5 separate regions of the Homo sapiens genome follow, and regions 1, 2, 3 and 5 are each linked to region 4. Evidence: promoter capture Hi-C in human tissues and cell types (Jung and others, 2019). All regions are on one chromosome and are shown on one strand. The core of a region is centred on a gene start or on the middle of the fragment in contact, and the rest is flanking DNA. Distances in the headings are between cores, read along the strand shown. Region 1 overlaps LINC02210-CRHR1 (LINC02210-CRHR1 readthrough). Region 2 holds the start of GFAP (glial fibrillary acidic protein). Region 3 overlaps LINC02210-CRHR1 (LINC02210-CRHR1 readthrough). Region 4 holds the start of FMNL1 (formin like 1). Region 5 overlaps PLEKHM1 (pleckstrin homology and RUN domain containing M1).

Region 1 (3,119 bases), core at 520-3,019, 430 kb before region 4:
GCCACACAGCTAATGCATGAACCCAGGCAGCCTGGCCTCAGAACCTGCCCTTCTAACCATGCAGTGTGACACGTAATCATGGCCGTGGCAGGGAGCAGTCTTCATAGGATCCAGAGGAGATAGTAGCCCCATGGGACAAGAGCACTGACCAGGAAGGAAGGGCTGTCACTACTCCCTGGCGATTTGCTCAGTGCAGGCTCTGGGCCTCTGGCCTTGGCACTGGCTTCCTGGAGACAATCCTGCACTCCCTGGCCGCTGCAGTGTGCTGGCTGGAAGATTGCTGATGAGAAGGTGATGGTCTCCAGGAGGACTTATTTGGCCTCCGGTGCCAACTGTGGGTCAAAGGAGCCCAGCTCCCAAAACCTTTGACACCATCTCTTTTTGTTGCAGAAACAGCCGGCCAGATGGTCAGCTCGCTTTGCCAGGTGCCCAGATCCCTGCCAGCACGGCTGTCTGAAAATGTCAGCAGAGTAAAGGTGTGTTCCCACAGCAGCTTTCGAGAGGTACCAAGAAGCCTTCCTCTGCAGAGCCCACCGTCTCTTCCCTGGCACGTCCTTCCCTCCCTAACTCTCCTTGTCGTCTCCTCCCCGGGCTGATACCTCCTACCCCAATGTCTGCTCCTGATCTAATAGTCAGCACTATTTGAATATCCCCATGTGCCAGGCACTATACCAAGCCTATTGCAAGCCTCTTCTCATTGAACCCTCACCACTGCATCCTATAAAGCAGGTACCATCTCTTCTTTTTATACGCAGGGAAGGGAGCCTTGGGGCCTTCCTTAACAAGCCCCTGGTCACACAAATGCTAAACGGTGGAGCTTGGATTCCAAACAGGATGTGGTGGCGCCAAAGCCTAGCTCTTTAGCTGGCTCTGTGAAGACAGGCCTTTGCCTTCTAAGCTTCATACAGGGGTCTTGGGGTCTTCTTTCTTTTAGCATTGGCTTTTTCAGTCTGCCTACCTTCATCTTGGATGGGAAACTAAGTCAAAACAAGGGTGTTTCCAAGAGTGGAGCTGGCAGCCTCTGTCACAGGCGGATGGGAGCCCAAGGCGTCATCTTCATCTAATGCTAAAATGCTTCACAGGGATTAAACACACTGCCTGCTGCAGTGGTTCCTAGGGGGCCAAGTGGGGGCTGGGTGGCTTAATTTGGTGAGGTGTGAATGTGATGGCGGGGGGAACTTTTGTGAGGGATACACACCCAGGACATGCAGGTAAAGGAAATCCAGACTGGATCCACCTATAGTGCCAAACACGCCCACATCTAGTCTGGCTTGACTAGACTTGGACATGTTTAATCAAGCTGCCCTGATTTACTGCTGGCTGCATTCTCCAGGCACAGCGCCATCTGCAGGGAAGCCCTGCACCAGCAAGGGTGGGGGGGCTGGTCCTAGGGCCTGTCCCAAGACCCTGTGATGGTCAGCATTTAAGGTAAAGTTTGTGAGCTACAAAGCCGGCACCGATTGCTGTCCTTTCAAGCTTAGGGCAGTCGTACAGGCACCACCTCTTCTCAACAACCAACCTCCTGAAATGATTTGGGCAGATATTATCATGCCCATTTTACAGATGACGAAACTGGGCCTCAGAAAGCCAGTCACCCCCCAGCGATGGTGCCAGGCAGGATTCCAACTCAGGCTCTTTGACAAAAAACTCTGGGCTCTACATCTGCCTCTCCTGATGCAGAAGAAAGAGAAGAAGTGTGGAGGGTGAAGGATGAAGCGAAAAGCTGCTGGCTGGATGGACTGAGAGCCAGGATTCGTGGCTTGGTTCTGTTCGCACTGTCTCTGCTGCCAAGCCCTACTCACCCCAGCCAGGAAGAGCAAACATTCCCAGACACAACATCCTCCTGGGTCTGTCATCAGGTTGACACAGAGAAAACTGAGCTCCTTACAGGAGACTGTCAGGGTGGGCTGGGGTGGAGTTTTTAAGTGTCTCAATAACTGGGAAGATAATTGAAGACATTATATTTTTTACTCTTTTCAGTGCCTGTCTCAGCAGCAAGCACTTGTCAGCCAGATCTTGGAGGCCAAAGCCTGTCTACCCTAACACAAAGAAGACACTCAAGTTGTCTAAATTCATCGACTTTTCTGAAATTTGAAATCTGCAATTTCCCGAGCTGTGTTCTGTTGTTAAGTGGCTGTCCAAATTCCTGAGCTCATGTTTAAGTGTCGCTGATAAAGAAGGAAACAATCCAATCAGGTTTACATTGGCGGTTCAATTAGGCACATATGAAGTAGTCACTCCAAAGCGGTTCACAGCAAATTTATTCCTGGGACAACCTTCTTTTACCACCCAACTTAAATCTCCCAGGAATTTGTTCCAAGAATAGAAGCTAACTGCTATAATATCCCGAGCTAATTGCAATACTATCCTGATTGGAGCCTAATTAGAAGGCAGATCTGCCTCACTAGCCAACACCACCTCTCCTCCTACACAGAGCCCTCAGAGATAGATTCTCTTGTCCTAGACAACTTTGTTATTTGATTATCTACACTGCAGCTCTTTCTTGCTAATTTACCACTTTTACATATTTATGCCCCCTAATTAGTCAACAAGTATTTATTAAACACCTACTGCATGCTCATCCCATGCATCCCAAGCAAACAGAAGGATGTTTGCTTCTGGTTCCAAAGAGAAATACATGCTTCTTTGGGGTGCTGGTCTCTTTTGGGGTCTTCAGTCAGATGAACAAGTAACGTATATGAGCAGAAGCTCATGCCTGTAATCCCAGCACTTTAGGAGGCCAAGGTGGGCAGATTGCTAGAGCCCAGGAGTTCAAGACCAGCCTGGACAACATAGTGAAACCCCACCTCTACTAAAAATACAAAAAATTAGCTGGGCATGGTGGTGTGCACCTGTCATCCCAGCTACTTGGGAGGCTGAGGTGGGAGGACCACCTGAGCTCGGAAAGTCAAGCCTGCAGTGAGCCGAGATGGCACCAATGCACTGGTGCATTAGACAATGCCTGGACAATGAACCTTGTCTCAAAAAGTAAAATAAAATCATACATATGCAGGAGTATTTGCACATAAAACACACGCCTGGAAAAATACATGTCTGGGGTATTTGCATATGCCTTGTGGAGAATTTCTAGGCTCGGTTAAAAGGAGAAAGAAACTAAA
Region 2 (3,031 bases), core at 532-3,031, 310 kb after region 4:
AAAAAAAAAAAAAAAAAAAAAAAGAACATATCCTGGTGTGGAGTAGGGGACGCTGCTCTGACAGAGGCTCGGGGGCCTGAGCTGGCTCTGTGAGCTGGGGAGGAGGCAGACAGCCAGGCCTTGTCTGCAAGCAGACCTGGCAGCATTGGGCTGGCCGCCCCCCAGGGCCTCCTCTTCATGCCCAGTGAATGACTCACCTTGGCACAGACACAATGTTCGGGGTGGGCACAGTGCCTGCTTCCCGCCGCACCCCAGCCCCCCTCAAATGCCTTCCGAGAAGCCCATTGAGCAGGGGGCTTGCATTGCACCCCAGCCTGACAGCCTGGCATCTTGGGATAAAAGCAGCACAGCCCCCTAGGGGCTGCCCTTGCTGTGTGGCGCCACCGGCGGTGGAGAACAAGGCTCTATTCAGCCTGTGCCCAGGAAAGGGGATCAGGGGATGCCCAGGCATGGACAGTGGGTGGCAGGGGGGGAGAGGAGGGCTGTCTGCTTCCCAGAAGTCCAAGGACACAAATGGGTGAGGGGACTGGGCAGGGTTCTGACCCTGTGGGACCAGAGTGGAGGGCGTAGATGGACCTGAAGTCTCCAGGGACAACAGGGCCCAGGTCTCAGGCTCCTAGTTGGGCCCAGTGGCTCCAGCGTTTCCAAACCCATCCATCCCCAGAGGTTCTTCCCATCTCTCCAGGCTGATGTGTGGGAACTCGAGGAAATAAATCTCCAGTGGGAGACGGAGGGGTGGCCAGGGAAACGGGGCGCTGCAGGAATAAAGACGAGCCAGCACAGCCAGCTCATGTGTAACGGCTTTGTGGAGCTGTCAAGGCCTGGTCTCTGGGAGAGAGGCACAGGGAGGCCAGACAAGGAAGGGGTGACCTGGAGGGACAGATCCAGGGGCTAAAGTCCTGATAAGGCAAGAGAGTGCCGGCCCCCTCTTGCCCTATCAGGACCTCCACTGCCACATAGAGGCCATGATTGACCCTTAGACAAAGGGCTGGTGTCCAATCCCAGCCCCCAGCCCCAGAACTCCAGGGAATGAATGGGCAGAGAGCAGGAATGTGGGACATCTGTGTTCAAGGGAAGGACTCCAGGAGTCTGCTGGGAATGAGGCCTAGTAGGAAATGAGGTGGCCCTTGAGGGTACAGAACAGGTTCATTCTTCGCCAAATTCCCAGCACCTTGCAGGCACTTACAGCTGAGTGAGATAATGCCTGGGTTATGAAATCAAAAAGTTGGAAAGCAGGTCAGAGGTCATCTGGTACAGCCCTTCCTTCCCTTTTTTTTTTTTTTTTTTGTGAGACAAGGTCTCTCTCTGTTGCCCAGGCTGGAGTGGCGCAAACACAGCTCACTGCAGCCTCAACCTACTGGGCTCAAGCAATCCTCCAGCCTCAGCCTCCCAAAGTGCTGGGATTACAAGCATGAGCCACCCCACTCAGCCCTTTCCTTCCTTTTTAATTGATGCATAATAATTGTAAGTATTCATCATGGTCCAACCAACCCTTTCTTGACCCACCTTCCTAGAGAGAGGGTCCTCTTGCTTCAGCGGTCAGGGCCCCAGACCCATGGTCTGGCTCCAGGTACCACCTGCCTCATGCAGGAGTTGGCGTGCCCAGGAAGCTCTGCCTCTGGGCACAGTGACCTCAGTGGGGTGAGGGGAGCTCTCCCCATAGCTGGGCTGCGGCCCAACCCCACCCCCTCAGGCTATGCCAGGGGGTGTTGCCAGGGGCACCCGGGCATCGCCAGTCTAGCCCACTCCTTCATAAAGCCCTCGCATCCCAGGAGCGAGCAGAGCCAGAGCAGGATGGAGAGGAGACGCATCACCTCCGCTGCTCGCCGCTCCTACGTCTCCTCAGGGGAGATGATGGTGGGGGGCCTGGCTCCTGGCCGCCGTCTGGGTCCTGGCACCCGCCTCTCCCTGGCTCGAATGCCCCCTCCACTCCCGACCCGGGTGGATTTCTCCCTGGCTGGGGCACTCAATGCTGGCTTCAAGGAGACCCGGGCCAGTGAGCGGGCAGAGATGATGGAGCTCAATGACCGCTTTGCCAGCTACATCGAGAAGGTTCGCTTCCTGGAACAGCAAAACAAGGCGCTGGCTGCTGAGCTGAACCAGCTGCGGGCCAAGGAGCCCACCAAGCTGGCAGACGTCTACCAGGCTGAGCTGCGAGAGCTGCGGCTGCGGCTCGATCAACTCACCGCCAACAGCGCCCGGCTGGAGGTTGAGAGGGACAATCTGGCACAGGACCTGGCCACTGTGAGGCAGAAGTGAGGAGGGGATGGGGAAGGGGGGCCTTGTGAGCAGAAGGGGCTGAATCCCCAAGAAGGAGTGCCCGAGAAGTCTCAGGGAGGGGCCGAACCTCCCTGCTCCCTGGGCCTCCCTACCTCTTGATGGGGCACTATCCTTGCCCCCCAACATGATGGGAGGGACCAGAAACAGGCCCAGGGCCCCGGGGATCTGATGCCCGCATGCCTTCTGCCAGGAGTCCAGGGTCCCCTCAGCACCTCCCTACTGGGGAAAGCAGTGCAGGAGCAGCGGGGCCCCTGTGTTTCATTCATGGCTGGGCTTTGTGACTGTGGGCAGCGAGCTCACCTATTCTGAGCCTGTGTCCATATAAAGGAGGAGTTGGAAGCGGAGAAGGTTGATGTCCATGAGGGAGATTGGATTCTGGGGTGAAGAAAGTGAGGGAAAGAGCAGGCAGGTCTGGGCGCAAAGCACAGGTGACTGCCTGCCACCAGCTTGTGACCCCCATCAAGTTACTTTGACTTGCACAGCTGTGAAGCGGTGGTCATAATAAAATTCATTTCAAAAGGTGGTTACCTGGGATCAGAGGAATCCCCAGGGGCATGGCGCTTCACTGAGCTGACAGGACATGCATGTGTGCCTTCAAGTGCAGGAGGACATGTGCGTGTGTGTGTGTGTGTGTGCAACAGTGAGTGTATGCTTGTGGATGCGCCTGTGTGAGCAGAAGCAGGTGCACCAACCCTGATAAGGCACCTTAGTAATGAGTTAAGGCAAAAGCCCACATCTGCTCATCCTCCAG
Region 3 (2,729 bases), core at 134-2,633, 410 kb before region 4:
CAGTGGCTCACACCTGTAATCCTAGCAATTTGGGAGGTCGAGGTGGGCAGATCACTTGAAGTCAGGAGTTCCAGACCAGCCTGGCCAACATGGTGAAACCCAGTCTCTATTAAAAATACAAAAATTAGGTGGGCATGGCGGCGCATGCCTGTAATCCCAGTTACTTGGGAGGCTGGGGCAGGAGAATCACTTGAACCCGGGAGGTGGAGGTCACAGTGAGCTGAGATCACACCACTGTACTCCAGCCTGGGCAACAGAGTGAGACTCTGTCTCAATAAAAAAAAAGACATTCTAGCAAGGAGATGGTGGGAGATATTATGGTTGGTACTGGAGAGAGGGAGGCAGACATCTCATTTAAATGTCTGTATTTACAAGTGAGACATTTGGCAGTAAATTTCAGTTCCAGCATTCAGAAAGCCAATAACAACATACTTGTTTATTGGCAAATACCAATAAAACTGCATTTCTGAGCTCATCGTCCTCTAACAAGTAAGTTAGCACTTCCCAGGCCTCATCAATCTGCTCTCTGTCATTACTGTCAACCATAAAAATCAGACCTAGAAAGAAATCACGAGCATGTTAGTGATCTGAGCCTGGAAAACGCAGCTGTTTATGTATCTTCACGACTTCTCCCTGCTTATGTGTGTGACTTCACAAAGGCAATCGATACGGAAGGATACATCATCTCTAGAGTTAGGAGGCCTGCTATACACTCAACTTACATTTTGCAGAAGCATCACAGCCCTGCACCATATTAACAACAAGAATATATCCTGAAAAAGTTAGTCTCGTTTTCTAATCACTTAATTTCCACGTCAGGGAAAAAAACTTTTTTTTAATTAATTAATTTATTTATTTTGAGATGGAGTCTTGCTGCAGCCCAGGCTGGAATGCAGTGGCGTGACCTCGGCTCACTGCAACCTCCACCTCCTGGGTTCAAGCAATTCTCCTGTCTCAGCCTCCCGATTAGCTGCGAATATAGGCACACCATCACACCCTGCTTATTTTTGTATTTTTAGTAGAGACGAGGTTTCACCATATTGGTCAGGCTGGTCTCGAACTCCTGACCTCAGGTGATCTGCCTGCCTTAGCCTCCCAAAGTGCTAGGATTATAGGCGTGAGACACTGCCCCTGGCCAAAACATTGTTTTTTAAAACATGTAAAGTTTAGTATAATAAAAGCATTCTAGGGCTAGCCCTCTAAAGCAAAACTTGAGACAAAAGCTTAAGTGCAGGTACGTTCTTTGGGAAGTGATCCCAGAGATCAGGAATGAGGGGCTGAGGGAGTAAAACAGGGCAGGAGGGACAGACAATAGAAGGACGAGTTATCAAGCTGGGCCCCCACTATGGGACCACTGCTCACCGTTGTTGGACATTCTAAGAAGCCATATCAAATGCCTGTCAGAACTGTCCACCCAGAGGACAAAAGAGGAAACAAGTATCCTTCAGTACCCATTCCCTGTTGCTCAAGAACAACTCAACAGGTGTTAGGCCACCCATACTTCTGGGTCACATTGGTATGAACACCAAGAGATTCCTATGGGCATCTTATAGTAATGAATTTGGCTGGTCTTTGTCCCCAGTTTCTAGAAGGTAGCCTCTAAACCCTTGGACTTTTCAGAGTGATAGCAGTATCTTTTTTTTTTTTTTTTTTTTTTTTTTTTTGAGACGGAGTCTGGCTCTGTCCGCCAGGCTGGAGTGCAGTGGCGCGATCTTGGCTCACTGCAAGCTCCGCCTCTCGGGTTTGCACCATTCTCCTGCCTCAGCCTCCCGAGCAGCTGGGACTACAGGCGCCCGCTACCGTACCCGGCTAATTTTTTGTATTTTCAGTAGAGACAAGGTTTCACCATGTTAGCCAGGATGGTTTCGATCTCCTGACCTTGTGATCCGCCCGCCTCGGCCTCCCAAAGTGCTGGGATTACAGGCGTGAGCCACCGCGCCCGATCAGCAGTATCTTTGTTATCATAGCGGGCCCACACCTCTAAGTTGATGCTAACAAGGTGACTCAGAGTGGGCCCCTAGATAGTGGATGCTAACAAGATCACCTCTGGGGAAATGAGGGTGCTAAAGTTTGAGTCACATGGCCAATGATTCAATCAATCGTACCTATGCAAGGAAGCCCCAATAAAAATGACAAATACTGAAGCTCAGGAGCACGTCCCTGGTTGGCAATACTCTATACATTGTCACGCATCGATGTGCTGGAAAGGTAACAGCCCCTGACTCCACGGGGAGAGAACAATGAAAGCTTTGCGTTTGGTGTCCTCCCAGATCTATGTGTCTTTCCCTTTGACTGGTTCATTTATATCCTTTTGCTTTATTGATCAATTAATAAAACTGTAGTTGTAAGCATAGCATGTCCCTGAATTCTGTGAATCATTCTGACAAGTGATCAAACCTGAGGGGGTAGTGGAAATCGCCAAATTTGTAGCCATCTGGCCAGAAGTGAGGGTGGGCTGAGGACCCCCAAACCTGTTGCCAGCTGGTGGCTGAAGTTGGGGATTCTTGTGGAGGATGGTGCCCTCAACCTGTGAAATAAAGTCCAACTCCAGGGGGTTGGTGCCGGAAGTCTCTGCAGCATTCCATACTATAGCATCAAATACATCCCAAAAAGTAAAAGATACCTGGGGCAGGCCAAAGAAAGGCACCACCCCATCACACCTGAGTGAAGGTGACCAAAACCTGCACAGACCCAGTCACTGCTACATTGGCTGGAGGAAGCTGTGGGGC
Region 4 (2,723 bases), core at 70-2,569:
CCCAGCGTCCAGCAAGGGAAGGCTGACAGCAGGCAGGCCACCAGGCAATTAGTTAGAGGAGGGAGCCAGGGCCAGGGCGTCGGGGGTGGGGAGAGTGAGAGTGAGCAGCTCTTCCTCTCCCTACTTCTGCCTTATGCAGGGTCTTGGAGACCCCTGAGTCTGCTCTGGAGCCCCCACCCCACTGAACATGTTGACTGTTTCCAGGCTCGGCCTGAGCTGCTGGTTCCCTCCCAGAGACCTATTCCCCAGCGACCCCGCTCCAATTCCCCAGGTAGGCACAGAGGGGGGTGGTTCCAGATTTTGCTCCACCCCTAGCCTGGGCGACCCACCCGTCCTGACCCCACCCTCCCTCATCTTACTCCCTTCAGTGGCTTGGAAAGGATGCCCCAAGATAAAGACCCACAGGCACCCTGGCTCTGACATATGGCGGGGTAGAAACACAGATACCTCCTGGCCATGATCCGACAACCCCATTCCCCGCAGCCCAGGCGCCCAACAAATCAGGACCCAACACCTCCAGCAGGTCTCCCGCTCCCGGGAGGTTGTAACCCTTTCATCTTTGACTCCAGACACAGAAAGGCAGATGCCCCAGACCCGCGCCCGGTGGCTGGGCCTGCGTGCAGTGGGGAAGGGGGCGACCCGGGACCCCTGTGCGTGCCCCGCTCCCAACTTCTTCACAGGACATACTTGTTTAGACCTTAAGACCCAGCTGGGGTGGAGGCGTCTTAGGGAGGGAGACCGGGCGATAACTGAAGAAAGTTTTGGGGGGAGAGTGCTAAGTCACTCTGAAAAAAAGGCCACTGTCGCTCCCACCTCCTGGAGGGGGCAGCTGCCGGACCGGGGATCTCCAAGCGGCACCTGAGTCCCCGGGGGCGGGGACGCGCGCCCAGCCCCTGCCGCGCCCCTGCCGCCCCCCGCCCGCGCCCGACCCGCCTCCGGGTCGCACTCACCAGGGCGCGGTTGAACCTCTCCTCCAGCTCTCCGGCCGCGGGCATCGGCTGCTTGGGAGGCGCGGGCTGCTTGGGGGGCGGCGCGGCGGGGCCCGCGGGCTGCTCGGCGCTGCCGGCCGCGTTGCCCATGGTGGTCCCCACCCAGCCGGCCAGGCGCCTCCAGCCTCGGAAATCCAGCTTTCCGGGGGACGGGGACGAGGCTCCCGGCCCGGGCGGGGGCGAGGGGGCAGCGGCTGGCGGTGGCGGCGGGGGTCTCGGCAGCGGGGGGCGCTCGGCTCAGCGGCGCGCAGGGGCCGGAGCGCGGCGTCCCATCGGGGCGGCCCCGTCCGTGGGACCGGGCGGCGAGCTGCAGGGTTGGGGGAGGAAGTCAGGCTGCAGGCCGCCGGGGCCAGAGGGCTGGGCCGGGGGCAGGAAGCTGCGGCGCTGGCTCCCCCCTCGGCGATTTTCGAACTTCTGCTGTCGCTCCCCGTGCGCGCAAACCGCAGTTCGCCGCCGCCGCCGCCGGGCACCCAGCCCCAGGGGGGCGGGCTGGAGGGAGGGGGCGGGCGCTGGCCGGGGGACCCCCGCAACCATGGCGGGCGGGGAGTGGGCTGCCGAGCCGCTTCACCTGCCGCAGAGGGGGCGGCCGGCGCCGCTTCACCTGCCGGAGCGGGAGGCCACCGAGGCGAGGCCGAGGCGGCGGCGCGCTCGGCGGCGCCTCCGGGTCCTAGAACCGCATCCTCCCGCTCGCCTCGGGCGAGGGATTGGCCGGGTCTGGGTGAAGGGGATCACGGCCTGGGGATTGGAGGGGCACATCTTCTCCGCACCGAGGATCTCAGCGACTGCGAGCACGGCTCGGAGACCCACGGTGGTGCAGCGTTGGGGCGCCAGGGCTGCGTTCCCGTCTCGCGTCCCGGACTGAGAAGGTGGGAACCCCCTTCCAGGCCCCCCACCTTTTATTTCTCTCCTCCCCTGCTTAGCCCAGAGACGAGCTGAGGACGAGGGGGAGCCATCTCCAAACAGGAACTCCTAAACAGGGTGGGGGGCGCGGACGCAGGCCAGTGGAGACCCCCGCCACCTGTCCCACCTCGACCAACCGTGCGCCTGTGCAGGGCACCCCTACAGGTTTTAGAATGGGGGCACCTATGGAATATGGCAGGCTGCGAGAAGCTGGGCCCGCCAAGGTGGTCCCAAGGAGGAGTGGGGGGTTGCGGAAAGGAGGATGAGAGCCAGCCACAAGGCTGGAAAAGGAGTGGGCACCGCAGAGGAGGGAAAAAGAATCTTGACACTGTCACCGCCAGGGATCTAGGGGGGCCTCTTACCTTGGAGAATAACAATCTCTGATGTCTGCTAATTACAGAAATACTTTCAGAGCTCTTTCATTCATCCTGACAATGGCCAGAGAAGGTAGGTATTGGTAGCCTTATTTTAGAGATGGGGAAACTGAGGCTGAGAGTAGGTAAGTAAGCTGTCCAAGGGCACTCAGCTAACAAAGGACAGAAGCAAGCCTCCTCACTGTCTACCTCCAAAACCTACACTGGCTTGGAGTTGCTGTCCTGGCCCTCCACTGCCCATCTCATGTAGGACGGGAGAGTATGGGGGGCTGGGGTCCCATCTATAGCCTGAATTTGAGACTTTCAGTTGCTCCTCTCATTCCCCATTTAATTTGTGGGGATCCCCAACTGACCCCTCCCTACACTTCCAGGGCACTGAGGAGGGAGGGCCCGCTGAAGGAGCCCCGAATTATCTCTAGGCCAGGTCAGGAGCCATTAGTGTCCCCTCCCCTGACAGCAT
Region 5 (2,776 bases), core at 84-2,583, 270 kb before region 4:
CCGCAACCTCTGCCTCCCAGGTTCAAGCGATTCTCCTGCCTCAGCCTCCCGAGTAGCTGGGATTACAGGCATACACCACCATGCCCGGCTAGTTTTGTATTTTTAGTAGAGATGGGGGTTTCTCTGTGTTGATCAGGCTGGTCTCCAACTCCCGACCTCAGGTGATCCACCCACCTCGGCCTCCCAAAGTGCTGGGATTACGGGCGTGAGCCGCCGCACCTGGCTGATTGCAGTTTTAAAGAGCCCCAAAGAACACTGTCTCTGCTTGCCACTTATAGTCGTATTCCTTTGAAAAGTGAATGCTGTTTACCTTCAATGTCCTCCCATTAATATGCAGTATATTTAAGTTGTTTTCAGCCTTATTGGCAGCTTGGCTTAATGACAGGAGCTCCACAGTTGCCCCAGCACTTAAGAGTTGTATACCCCAACTTCCCACAGTGTGTGAAGTGGAGGTACTTACCCCGTGCCTTGTTTTTATTTTATTAATCAATTCATTCAACAGCTTATTTTTTGAGCACCAGTGTGTGACAAACACTGTTCCAGGTACTAGAAATACAATGGTGAATGGGTCAGGCAACGGTCCTGTTTTCATTCATTCAGAGTTTGGTCCTTGTTAGAATCCTCTGGGATATGGGACAAGAATACAGGAAAGCTGGGTGATACTGGATGGAAGGAAGGAGGGAGGAAAGAAAGATAGCTAGTGTTCACTGACTCCACAATTCTGCCCTCATCCACTAGCCCTGAGTCTGGGAATCACAAGCTAAAAGTTTCTCACCCTTCATCTGGTATTTAATTGCTTCAAAGCTCCAACCCCCACCACTCCACCCATCACAGAAATCCAGCTTTCCTCAGGTGGACAGAGGTGCAGTTTCCTCAGTCAGCACTCACATGCCTGAAAGATCAGCTGCCTTTCTGAATCAGAGGATAACTTTGTCATTCTTTTCCAATTGAAAAAACATGACTCATCAATTGGTACAGCAGTTGGATGGCTTAAAGCCAGGCTGTGGCTCTGAACAGCCAGTTACACAATTCAGGCAGTGGAGAGAAGGCCGTGGGGAGTGGCTGAGGAGTCCCTCAAGAGAAGAGGTTGCTGTTCACTGATGGTGGAGTGTTTTGAGAGTGGTGGAACCAGGTTATCCCTTTCTTCTTTTAACGTAAGTCTCATCCAAGTCATTCTCTTTTTTTGCTTCCTTGATCTCTGGAGGAAGTGAAATTGGACATATAGAGAAGGCCAGGCAGTATAATGCAGGAAACCAACCGGAACTGTTCCTTCCTAACTATGTTGGAACATTTAAGAAAGTATAGCTCTGAGACTTTAGGAGCATTGGTAGGACCTGGTCTCAGCTGGTTGGGGCTATAAACCTGATTGGCAGAACTGTTTCTTGTTGGTTTCAGACCTTCTGTGATGAAATGGAGCTTCCGAGTACCTCTAAAGAAGAAGTAATAGTTTGTCTGAATTTGAGCCAAAGACCTGAGGCCTTTTGGTCCAGGGAAAGATGCAGGAGTTGGGATGAAGAAACCAGAGAGTTCTGTCCCTTACCCGAGACCCATTGCTACTGAGCCTCAGTTTTGTCCTCTGTAAAACAGGGATAATCACTCTCTCACGGGATTGCTGTGAGAATTAAATGAGGTTAGAGAGGGACATCAGAGAAGCTTGCTTTCTGCACTCTGGAGAGCTATGTGAAGGCGAATGAATACACAGGGTGGCAGTAGACTTGGTGTGGTTTGGGGCTTCCTAAATGGCACCAGTCACCTTTCCCCTGCTAAGATTTCACCCGTCATGTTCAAGAGCCCTTTGGTACTGTTGCCCAGCTTTGCCTCACTCCCTTCAGGTAGGTCTCCTTGAAGCCACACCTCTCTTCACTTTGGTTCTTTGTGTCAATGAAGAGCGTTTTGAGGACAGAAAGTGGAACCAGTTCCATAGGATGGTAGATTCAGAATCTGGGCCACCAGGGTGGGTGACGCAGTACTGTCCCCACAGTCAAGAGACACAAAGCCTCCTTCTGATTCCCGCCGTGAGTTCTTATGTCACTGACCATCTGAGCCCTGCCTCCCTGAGCATGATGGAACAGATACAGATAGGTGGGGTGCTATGGCTGCCTACAAACAGAGGTGTCCTGCATTGTGGCTGGAACCCCAGAGGCTCAGTCCTGTCTTGTGAATTTTCAAGTGGCTCTTCTGCTGGATTTCTCTGAGCTCTTGTCAGTCATTTTGTGGCATTTCTGACTCTGTTTTAGGCCAAGTGACCCTTCTCTTGTCTGGCCCTGTCTCTCTTAGCTTCAGTTTATTATTATTAATTTTTTTTTTTGAGATGGAGTCTCGCTCTGTTGCCCAAGCTGGGGTGCAGTGGCACAATCTTGGCTCACTGCAAGCTCCACCTCCTGGGTCCACGCCATTCTCCTGCCTCAGCCTCCCAAGTAGCTGGGACTACAGGTGCCCGCCCGGCTAATTTTTTGTATTTTTAGTAGAGATGGGGTTTCACCGTGTTAGCCAGGATGGTCTCGATCTCCTGACCTCGTGATCCACCCGCCTCGGCCTCCCAAAGTGCTGGGATTACAGGCGTGAGCCACCGCGCCCAGCCAGCTTCAGTTTATTATTTATTTATTTATTTGAGACATAAATTATTATTATTATTATTATTTTTTTATTTTATCTTTTTTTTTTTGAGACGGAGTCTCTCTCTGTCGCCTAGGCTGGAGTGCAGTGGCGGGATCTCGGCTCACTGCAAGCTCCGCCTCCCAGGTTCACGCCATTCTCCTGCCTCAGCCTCCCGAGT

Evidence for each region. The method cuts DNA at HindIII sites, captures the fragments that hold promoters and counts their contacts. A contact is called where the count stands out against the background at its distance.
Region 1: a contact is called between a fragment that was not itself captured here and the fragment with the promoter of FMNL1 in region 4, in 1 of the 25 tissues and cell types used here (dorsolateral prefrontal cortex).
Region 2: the fragment with the promoter of GFAP here is called in contact with the fragment with the promoter of FMNL1 in region 4 in 2 of the 25 tissues and cell types used here (lymphoblastoid cells and mesenchymal stem cells).
Region 3: a contact is called between a fragment that was not itself captured here and the fragment with the promoter of FMNL1 in region 4, in 1 of the 25 tissues and cell types used here (hippocampus).
Region 5: a fragment that was not itself captured here is called in contact with the fragment with the promoter of FMNL1 in region 4 in 2 of the 25 tissues and cell types used here (hippocampus and mesenchymal stem cells).

The regions. Positions count from the first base shown.
Region 1 is chr17:45,647,075-45,650,193 of GRCh38, reverse strand. All of the region lies in intron 3 of LINC02210-CRHR1 (LINC02210-CRHR1 readthrough), which reads right to left. Among named protein-coding and RNA genes, the nearest start is that of LINC02210-CRHR1, 28 kb to the right of the region's middle. The HindIII fragment of the contact is 3,350 bases long and covers 95-3,119 here.
Region 2 is chr17:44,914,250-44,917,280 of GRCh38, reverse strand. It overlaps GFAP (glial fibrillary acidic protein), which reads left to right and starts at 1,781. Exons shown (of 9, transcript NM_002055.5): 1 at 1,781-2,255. The coding sequence starts at 1,795. The HindIII fragment of the contact is 9,658 bases long and covers 1-3,031 here.
Region 3 is chr17:45,630,878-45,633,606 of GRCh38, reverse strand. The region is part of intron 3 of LINC02210-CRHR1 (LINC02210-CRHR1 readthrough); the gene reads right to left. All of the region lies in intron 5 of LINC02210 (long intergenic non-protein coding RNA 2210), which reads right to left. It also overlaps the pseudogene ARF2P. Among named protein-coding and RNA genes, the nearest start is that of LINC02210-CRHR1, 12 kb to the right of the region's middle. The HindIII fragment of the contact is 3,614 bases long and covers 1-2,729 here.
Region 4 is chr17:45,220,481-45,223,203 of GRCh38, reverse strand. FMNL1 (formin like 1) reads right to left here and starts at 1,319. Exons shown (of 27, transcript NM_005892.4): 1 at 951-1,319. The coding sequence starts at 1,079. It overlaps FMNL1-DT (FMNL1 divergent transcript), which reads left to right and starts at 1,439. Exons shown (of 3, transcript NR_147507.1): 1 at 1,439-1,855. RefSeq lists enhancers at 1-280, 281-781 and silencers at 628-922, 845-954, 1,235-1,284, 1,295-1,744. The HindIII fragment of the contact is 26,209 bases long and covers 1-2,723 here.
Region 5 is chr17:45,486,106-45,488,881 of GRCh38, reverse strand. All of the region lies in intron 1 of PLEKHM1 (pleckstrin homology and RUN domain containing M1), which reads left to right. Among named protein-coding and RNA genes, the nearest start is that of PLEKHM1, 3.2 kb to the left of the region's middle. The HindIII fragment of the contact is 3,459 bases long and covers 1-2,776 here.